Regions from separate parts of the Homo sapiens genome. Here regions 2 and 3 are each linked to region 1. Evidence: promoter capture Hi-C in 16 types of primary human blood cells and fetal thymus (Javierre and others, 2016). All regions are on one chromosome and are shown on one strand. The core of a region is centred on a gene start or on the middle of the fragment in contact, and the rest is flanking DNA. Distances in the headings are between cores, read along the strand shown.

What was found. The method cuts DNA at HindIII sites, captures the fragments that hold promoters and counts their contacts. A CHiCAGO score of 5 or more calls a contact.
Region 2: the fragment with the promoter of KLHL7 here is called in contact with the fragment with the promoter of IL6 in region 1 in 11 of 17 cell types (M2 macrophages, M1 macrophages, total CD4 T cells and 8 more); the score reaches 10.2 in M2 macrophages.
Region 3: a contact is called between a fragment that was not itself captured here and the fragment with the promoter of IL6 in region 1, in 1 of 17 cell types (total B cells). The highest score is 5.4, in total B cells.

The regions. Positions count from the first base shown.
Region 1 is chr7:22,725,502-22,728,689 of GRCh38, forward strand. IL6 (interleukin 6) reads left to right here and starts at 1,699. Exons shown (of 5, transcript NM_000600.5): 1 at 1,699-1,780; 2 at 1,943-2,133. The coding sequence starts at 1,762. It overlaps IL6-AS1 (IL6 antisense RNA 1), which reads right to left and starts at 2,119. Exons shown (of 2, transcript NR_131935.1): 1 at 2,067-2,119; 2 at 1-1,204. RefSeq lists a silencer at 1,114-1,163 and an enhancer at 1,149-2,348. The HindIII fragment of the contact is 10,105 bases long and covers 1-3,188 here.
Region 2 is chr7:23,104,358-23,107,545 of GRCh38, forward strand. It overlaps KLHL7 (kelch like family member 7), which reads left to right and starts at 1,428. Exons shown (of 11, transcript NM_001031710.3): 1 at 1,428-1,789. The coding sequence starts at 1,670. It overlaps KLHL7-DT (KLHL7 divergent transcript), which reads right to left and starts at 1,346. Exons shown (of 3, transcript NR_046220.1): 1 at 1,202-1,346. RefSeq lists enhancers at 616-1,602, 1,225-1,414, 1,535-1,814, 1,603-2,589, 2,295-2,374. The HindIII fragment of the contact is 5,093 bases long and covers 1-2,557 here.
Region 3 is chr7:22,996,909-23,000,096 of GRCh38, forward strand. All of the region lies in intron 1 of HYCC1 (hyccin PI4KA lipid kinase complex subunit 1), which reads right to left. Among named protein-coding and RNA genes, the nearest start is that of HYCC1, 16 kb to the right of the region's middle. The HindIII fragment of the contact is 1,900 bases long and covers 476-2,375 here.

The DNA of each region.
Region 1 (3,188 bases), core at 449-2,948:
ATAGTTGAGTAAAAGCAAGCTCACATTACATAGACGGATCACAGTGCACGGCTGCGGAGCTGGGAGCAGTGGCTTCGTTTCATGCAGGAAAGAGAACTTGGTTCAGGAGTGTCTACGTTGCTTAAGACAGGAGAGCACTAAAAATGAAACCATCCAGCCATCCTCCCCCATTTTCATTTTCACACCAAAGAATCCCACCGCGGCAGAGGACCACCGTCTCTGTTTAGACAATCGGTGAAGAATGGATGACCTCACTTTCCCCAACAGGCGGGTCCTGAAATGTTATGCACGAAACAAAACTTGAGTAAATGCCCAACAGAGGTCACTGTTTTATCGATCTTGAAGAGATCTCTTCTTAGCAAAGCAAAGAAACCGATTGTGAAGGTAACACCATGTTTGGTAAATAAGTGTTTTGGTGTTGTGCAAGGGTCTGGTTTCAGCCTGAAGCCATCTCAGAGCTGTCTGGGTCTCTGGAGACTGGAGGGACAACCTAGTCTAGAGCCCATTTGCATGAGACCAAGGATCCTCCTGCAAGAGACACCATCCTGAGGGAAGAGGGCTTCTGAACCAGCTTGACCCAATAAGAAATTCTTGGGTGCCGACGCGGAAGCAGATTCAGAGCCTAGAGCCGTGCCTGCGTCCGTAGTTTCCTTCTAGCTTCTTTTGATTTCAAATCAAGACTTACAGGGAGAGGGAGCGATAAACACAAACTCTGCAAGATGCCACAAGGTCCTCCTTTGACATCCCCAACAAAGAGGTGAGTAGTATTCTCCCCCTTTCTGCCCTGAACCAAGTGGGCTTCAGTAATTTCAGGGCTCCAGGAGACCTGGGGCCCATGCAGGTGCCCCAGTGAAACAGTGGTGAAGAGACTCAGTGGCAATGGGGAGAGCACTGGCAGCACAAGGCAAACCTCTGGCACAGAGAGCAAAGTCCTCACTGGGAGGATTCCCAAGGGGTCACTTGGGAGAGGGCAGGGCAGCAGCCAACCTCCTCTAAGTGGGCTGAAGCAGGTGAAGAAAGTGGCAGAAGCCACGCGGTGGCAAAAAGGAGTCACACACTCCACCTGGAGACGCCTTGAAGTAACTGCACGAAATTTGAGGATGGCCAGGCAGTTCTACAACAGCCGCTCACAGGGAGAGCCAGAACACAGAAGAACTCAGATGACTGGTAGTATTACCTTCTTCATAATCCCAGGCTTGGGGGGCTGCGATGGAGTCAGAGGAAACTCAGTTCAGAACATCTTTGGTTTTTACAAATACAAATTAACTGGAACGCTAAATTCTAGCCTGTTAATCTGGTCACTGAAAAAAAATTTTTTTTTTTTCAAAAAACATAGCTTTAGCTTATTTTTTTTCTCTTTGTAAAACTTCGTGCATGACTTCAGCTTTACTCTTTGTCAAGACATGCCAAAGTGCTGAGTCACTAATAAAAGAAAAAAAGAAAGTAAAGGAAGAGTGGTTCTGCTTCTTAGCGCTAGCCTCAATGACGACCTAAGCTGCACTTTTCCCCCTAGTTGTGTCTTGCCATGCTAAAGGACGTCACATTGCACAATCTTAATAAGGTTTCCAATCAGCCCCACCCGCTCTGGCCCCACCCTCACCCTCCAACAAAGATTTATCAAATGTGGGATTTTCCCATGAGTCTCAATATTAGAGTCTCAACCCCCAATAAATATAGGACTGGAGATGTCTGAGGCTCATTCTGCCCTCGAGCCCACCGGGAACGAAAGAGAAGCTCTATCTCCCCTCCAGGAGCCCAGCTATGAACTCCTTCTCCACAAGTAAGTGCAGGAAATCCTTAGCCCTGGAACTGCCAGCGGCGGTCGAGCCCTGTGTGAGGGAGGGGTGTGTGGCCCAGGGAGGGCTGGCGGGCGGCCAGCAGCAGAGGCAGGCTCCCAGCTGTGCTGTCAGCTCACCCCTGCGCTCGCTCCCCTCCGGCACAGGCGCCTTCGGTCCAGTTGCCTTCTCCCTGGGGCTGCTCCTGGTGTTGCCTGCTGCCTTCCCTGCCCCAGTACCCCCAGGAGAAGATTCCAAAGATGTAGCCGCCCCACACAGACAGCCACTCACCTCTTCAGAACGAATTGACAAACAAATTCGGTACATCCTCGACGGCATCTCAGCCCTGAGAAAGGAGGTGGGTAGGCTTGGCGATGGGGTTGAAGGGCCCGGTGCGCATGCGTTCCCCTTGCCCCTGCGTGTGGCCGGGGGCTGCCTGCATTAGGAGGTCTTTGCTGGGTTCTAGAGCACTGTAGATTTGAGGCCAACGGGGCCGACTAGACTGACTTCTGTATTTATCCTTTGCTGGTGTCAGGAAGTTCCTTTCCTTTCTGGAAAATGCAGAATGGGTCTGAAATCCATGCCCACCTTTGGCATGAGCTGAGGGTTATTGCTTCTCAGGGCTTCCTTTTCCCTTTCCAAAAAATTAGGTCTGTGAAGCTCCTTTTTGTCCCCCGGGCTTTGGAAGGACTAGAAAAGTGCCACCTGAAAGGCATGTTCAGCTTCTCAGAGCAGTTGCAGTACTTTTTGGTTATGTAAACTCAATGGCTAGGATTCCTCAAAGCCATTCCAGCTAAGATTCATACCTCAGAGCCCACCAAAGTGGCAAATCATAAATAGGTTAAAGCATCTCCCCACTTTCAATGCAAGGTATTTTGGTCCTGTTTGGTAGAAAGAAAAGAACACAGGAGGGGAGATTGGGAGCCCACACTCGAATTCTGGTTCTGCCAAACCAGCCTTGTGATCTTGGGTAAATTCCCTACCACCTCTGGACTCCATCAGTAAAATTGGGCGTGGACTAGGTGATCTCATAGATCCTTCCTGCTGGAACATTCTATGGCTTGAATTATATTCTCCTAATTATTGTCAAAATTGCTGTTATTAAGTATCTACTGTGTGCCAGGCACTTTAAATAAATATTGTGTCTAATCTTCAAAACAAATTTGCAAGGAAGGTTTTTGGAGATAAGGAAACTGAGACTCAGGATTAAGTAACACACCTAAAGTCACAGGTGAGCTTGGAACTGAACCCAAGTGTGCCCCCACTCCACTGGAATTTGCTTGCCAGGATGCCAATGAGTTGTAGCTTCATTTTTCTTAGAGACTTTCCTGGCTGTGGTTGAACAATGAAAAGGCCCTCTAGTGGTGTTTGTTTTAGGGACACTTAGGTGATAACAATTCTGGTATTCTTTCC
Region 2 (3,188 bases), core at 178-2,677, 380 kb after region 1:
TTCTTCAGTGTCCTGGGTCATTTAATAAAGTGAATGAAAAATTTTCTCATTTATAATTTTATTAACAATAAATTATTCCTATTGCCAGGGTTCACCTGAAATCCCCAAATCAACTAGTTAAAATAGAGGCACATCTGAGAACCTCTAGATTAATAGAAGAAAGATAAAGAGTACAGAGACATAAGTATCTTACTCTTTTGTAAAAATTGAGGCGTATATATAGCTTGCTCTTTCATCTGGATTATGCTATATGGTTTGTCCTCAACAAGAAAAGTATACTGTGGGCCAGGCCTGGCCGCTCATTCCTGTAATCCCAGCACTTTGGGAGGCCTAGGCGGGAGGATTGCATAACACCAGGAGTTCGAGACAAGCCTGGGCAACATAGTGTGACCTCTTCACCACCACCACCACCACCACCACCACCACCAAAAAAATTTAAAAATTAAAACTTAGCCCAGAGTGGTGTTGCACGCCTGTAGTTTCAGCTACTTGGGAGGCTGAGATGGGAGGATTGCTTGAGCCCAGGAGTGCTGAGGCTTCAGTGAGCTATGATTAGCCACTGCACCGCACCCCCAGCCTGGGCGACAGGGCCGAGACCCTGCCTCCAAAAAAAAAAAAAAAAGCCTCAATGGTGTAAATTATTTTACATAAAATGTCTCTGTATAGTCCTATATAGACCGAGGAGGAAAACCAATGAGATATAAAGTTTTCATAATGTTAAATAATGTACAATTTCAAATAATCCTGTATATTACTATACAGTAGAAAGAATATGGTTACAAAAAACATTTCCATGAGGGCTGTGATTGAGTTCCGTGTTCCCGTAAAACACTTAGAGAAGCCTAACTGAAGATTTCTAGAACCGACTGACAACTGATTTCAGTTGTAAACACACAGTAAGCCAGCCTAGTTAGGCAGACATTCATTGCACGCCAAGGAGACACCAACGGGACTGTGTGCTCTTGCGTTATGAATCCCACGAAAATAAATCTTGTGCTCCGTGTAACATGACTTTAACTTGCAGTAATATCCTTTCATCATTTAATATTTATTGAGCGCCTACCATACACCAGGCTCAGATACTGCACTGAACACCGACCCTGTCCCATGAAGCCTTACACTGATGGGAGACACCTTTGCATGTTCCACAACCCAATTATCAAAAAAAAAAAAAAAAAAAAGATAATCACGTAACCGAAACCTGGAAATCTGCCTTGGGCACACAAAAGAGCAGGCGCGACCTCGGACCAGCTCCGAGGCAAAATTCACTCAGCGCGGGACAGCGACAGGGAATCCGGCCGCACCTGTGCCTGCAGTCTCATTGCTCGGAACGGCGCGCCACTGTGACGTGTCAGGCCCCGCCCCTGACTCTCCTCATAGTGCCCCCGCCTCCTTGCGCGAAGTGCGCAGGCTCCTGGGCAGGGCTCGGGTTCTGCCCGGGGACGCAGCCCAGTTGGTAGCGTCGCTCCCTGAGCGTTTCTAAGGGGGCCGCCCGGCCTTGTCTTTCGGCAGTGGCCGAGCCACCGCCGCCTGCCGCGCGTTCCAGAGCTGGGCGCTGCAGCTGCACTGCCGATCGCCGTGTTTGGTCGATAGAATCCCCAGTGTGCCCAGAGAGTGCGACCCCTCGCCCGGCCCGGCGAGCCCCGGGCGTGAACCGAGCTGAGGGAGGATGGCAGCCTCTGGGGTGGAGAAGAGCAGCAAGAAGAAGACCGAGAAGAAACTTGCTGCTCGGGAAGAAGCTAAATTGTTGGCGGGTTTCATGGGCGTCATGAATAACATGCGGAAACAGGTACCGCCTCTGTGGGAGTGACGGACGACGGTGGGAGGTGGTCCGGGGCTCGGGCCCCTGGTTCCCGGGGTGGAACCCCGCGCCCTGTGGATCGCGCCCCTCTTTCTCTGTCCTCGCCCCTCCTTCCGTTTTCGCAGGCGAGCGATTCCGCAGTTGGTAGAGGGGCGCGTAAAACAATTCTCGAGCAAAAGTGCTTCTCGTCTGCCGAGGATGTAGCTCCCAAGTCAGACTCCTGGGGGACTCCTCAGGCTGGCTTTCGCCGTCGGGTATCGGTTGTGTAACAGCTCTGCCCTAGTTATCTCTTTGTGGGGCGAGGATCCTTCCATTGGCGAGCCGTTTTAAGGTGCCGTGAGATCTTGTGTGAAGAAACCCGTTGGCATAGCCCAAACCGAAGCCCCCAAAGGGAGGAGAGTTGCTGGCCTGACATCAGCTGCTCTTAAATAAGGATCCCCGCCCCCTCCTGTGTTCCCCGGTGGAGCTAGTTGAAGAGGAGTCCTCCTGTTCGTGCTAATTTAGAGCAGAAGCAGCCATCGATAAATACCATGCCATCTTCTAAGGGCACTGTGCGCCTCTGTTATTAAGAGGAGCTCTTTGTTCTGTCCTTGGTGTGTGGTGCATTCGTGAAATTCTGCAGCACATCGGCGAAAGGTGGGTTATGAAAAGAACGGATTTTAACGCTGGCGAAGGTGAAACAAAGAGGCTTTTTTTTTTTTTAATTCCATAACATCTACACCGATAAGCATAGAAAGTCACTTTTTCCTTTCTGTAAGCTTTATTTATAGATAATACACATCTAAGTAGATTTGTGGGAATGTTTGGGTTTTGTTGACTGGGATCCTGTTTCAAGGGGACAAAGCAGGATGTGAGTTATGTGTAACTGCAAAACCTAGTTTGCTTTGTCTGGTGGTTCTGCTGGGAATATGGGCAACAGTAGAGGAATTTAAGATTTTTATGAAGATATTAACTTCTGGTTTCTATAAGCAAACGCTGACTGCTGGGATTTTGTCTTTGTTCACCAGCTCCTGCTACAGTGCACCAGTGCAGTCTGTGGGAATGCTTTTAAATCTTTCCTGGCCTGGCCTTTGTGCTGAAGTACTGTGAATGCCTGAATTCGTTAATTTATGTAACTGACTTTCATGTATCTATTTTCAAATTCATGTTCCTTTCATGTAAACCTTTTTGTATCTACAATACCACAGACTTCAAATTGCTGGTGCATTTAGCTATTGCCTGCCTGTAATGGTAGTTGAACATAGTTAACCAGGGCTTAAACTCGTTGAAGACTCATTAGGTTCCCTCCCACTCCCTCGAATATATGTTTTCATTCGTGGATCATAGCATTGTAAAGCATTGCCTTAATCCCTAAATAGGGTGAAACTGGATTGCAGCAGCAAATATT
Region 3 (3,188 bases), core at 176-2,675, 270 kb after region 1:
TGTAAAAACTTTATTCTTCTCAAAGATAAAAGAGACAATTAAAATACATGTTTCCTGCTGTGTAACTAACTTCCTATTTTTGCCAAACATGTTCCGGAGCAGAATATTTAAAATTACATTAGAAGGCTTGCTAGGAGTCTATGTAGTATTTCACTAGCCCAATAAGTCTGTATAACATTAATTTTTTATATTTTCAATGTACAATAAAACCTTTCTAAGTCAAATGTCTTATTCTTCAATTCCCACATTATGTTATTAATAACAATTACCAAAATTTATCTTTTAGTGTTGTCATCAGAGACATATAACATTTTAATTATTTTATAAGAATATTTTAAAAGTATTTGTAACTTTCACTGTAAAACTCTAAAAATTTCCTTATTCCTATCTTTTACATCATCCCCTTCACCATTAAGCACTAACGACAAACTACTATAAAACTTTTTATAACCATTTGTTTTATATATCATTATGAAGCTTAAGTTTCTATAAATTTATAGAGCAACCAAATTTCTATAAATGGATTGTGACACATCACGAAATTTTAAACTTCTCTCCTATGCAATGAGGCCATTGCTGTAGTTAAATTAAGCGCTACCAGAAGATTATCAAGAATTCCTGGGTGAATTTCAGGAAAACAGAATGGAGAGAAATGTTCAGATTATGTTACAGAATAAAATTAATTTAATTTTAGGATTTTGCTGCTTAGAAACTGACCAATCAATTGTGAAGGAGGACAGTATATGTGCTGTTGCTTAAAAAGAAGTGTTGATGCCTCACTGCCTACCTAGGTCATCAAGTAAATAAAGCTGCCTCTCAAGGCACCAGGAGAAGTAATATAATTCATAGTAAGAGAGGTTTGGGAAGTCTTTCCAAAGGCCTATTACTTAGGCCTATTTTCCCCAAAAATCACAAAACAAGTGTCTGATTATCAAGAATAGAACATAGGTTTTTACTCTATAAAATGGTTTTTGGCTAAACCATCTTTTGCCTACCCCAAGGACAAATAAGATCATGTTGGGATATCAGTGTGCTGTGGCAACCAGCCCAGTGTGTTTCTGTTGGAAAAGCTAGAACAATTAGAAGGTAAGAAGTTCTTTCTTCTCATTTCCCATTTCTATCTTCCTGTTCTTCTCAGATCCTCCATGACTTCAGACAAGATCAGGCACGTTCAAGGTGGTATGGTCATAGACAAGATCCTCCAGGACTTCAGAAGAACATTTTTTCCAGGGAAAGGATATCTGATTTGGACTCTAATAAGAGAAGTTAGGAAGAACTATTTTTTAATAACCATGTTGACCAAAAGAATGCAGCAAACAGAATGCTATGAAACTTCTGAGGCCAACAGTTACTGCTCTTGGATTTCTATTGCAAATATTCTCCCTCTTTTTTGAGCCAGCATTCAAATAGCCTTGACTAAGATCATGTACAATTTATTAACAATTTAGATTTCTTTTAGATAAGAGCAGACAGAATGGTGAGATCTCTGGGAACTATGGCACTACGATGAGCACTTCTTATTGACATTAACATAGCACATGACTCAGTGGTTCAACATTTTTTAAAATTTTTTTCAAATAAAAATTATATAACATAATTTTTAAGTTTTAAACTGTATTAGTAACTACAGGCAAATTTCAGTCCAGATACTATAAGCATAAGTAACATACAGCAAGTATCTAATAAATATTTATTGAATAGAAGAATAAATTTCACCCTTTATAATGCCCGTCAAATTTACCATCTGCTCTCCATCTCCACAGCAACGCCCTGAGTCTGGGCCCTTATTTCCTCTGCATCTGCTGATCACACAGCCTTCTGGCTCCTGATTTCTTCCCTTTTCCAGTGCACCATGCATGTTGCTGCCATATAATCTTGCTGAAACTTCTTTTCTCCTGAACACACCATGACATCAGACCTCACAAATCTTCTACATCAAACTTTCCCTAAAATATGGTCATAATTTACCTATCCAAATTTTACTTAACACTATTCTCCAAAATAATCCATGCCACTCCAGGCTCCATGTCTTTGCCTATGCTTCTCTTCTCTACCTTCCTTTCACTCCTCAGCTTTTACACCCTACCTAGGAAAAACTTGGGGCTCTTATTAATGAAATGCATGCATTGGCAAGGTAAGCTGCCAGGAGAGAACTGGCACTGCATCTGTGAACCAAAACAGCATCATCTGATTATTTTAAAGACTGATTGATGCAGATAATCTTGACTTAGAAAACCTCTTATTAGAATGTTATAAGAAATCTTAAAAGTCCATTAATATGTTATGTATTTCACTAAATATAAAAATATCACAAACAAATTATTTTACATTTAATATTGGGTAAAAATCTACAAGAGCAGTTATTGCTGAAATAAAGCTTTCCAAAATGTTTGCACCACCTTTTACAAAATATAATTACAGCACATACTAAGTGATTCAAGTATTACCTCAGTGAATCAAACTTCAGTAAGCCCTGATAACTAACATACAAATGATAAAGTTTATGTTAACAGATTTTAAGAGATCAGTGTAAAAGTGCTGAACTATAATAATTACCTCAATCACATTCATTAACATGATTATCACACAATTGCATATTAAATAACATGGTGATTAGAAATGCTTTCTACATATTCACTGAACAGGATGTCAAGTCGACAGCCCGTTCATATAATTTATCCAGACAGTAGGCTGGGCAGAGTCAGAGTAAGAGCAAAGAAACAGAAGTAGCAAAAACAAACATAGAATGGGAGGTCGTATATGCAAAAAGTCAATACTAGTATATGTTCAAATTGCAACATTAATAATTCAGCAAGCCCTTGATTGCCTGCTGAGTATAATGCAAAGTGTTTCTATTAGTTTGCACCATTAGCAAAAGAATAGTAAAATATGATCTGTGTCCTCAAGGCAATTGTAATCCAGATGGCAAAGGAAAAGCAGGGAATAGACGAGAGGAAAATAAGTCAAGGTAGCACCTTACATTTTCTAGACGAATAATTGCAAGGGCCATCATGAGAAAATTATCAGAAATACACAAAATCAACAATGAAAAGTTTAAAACAAGGGTTCTGCTCACTATGCAACTATAAAAGATTATAAAAATTCCACCAAGAAAGAAAATAAAACATACACAAAAACTATCAACACCTAGGGAGAAAACCGATCTCCCATCCCTGCTAATATTTTTC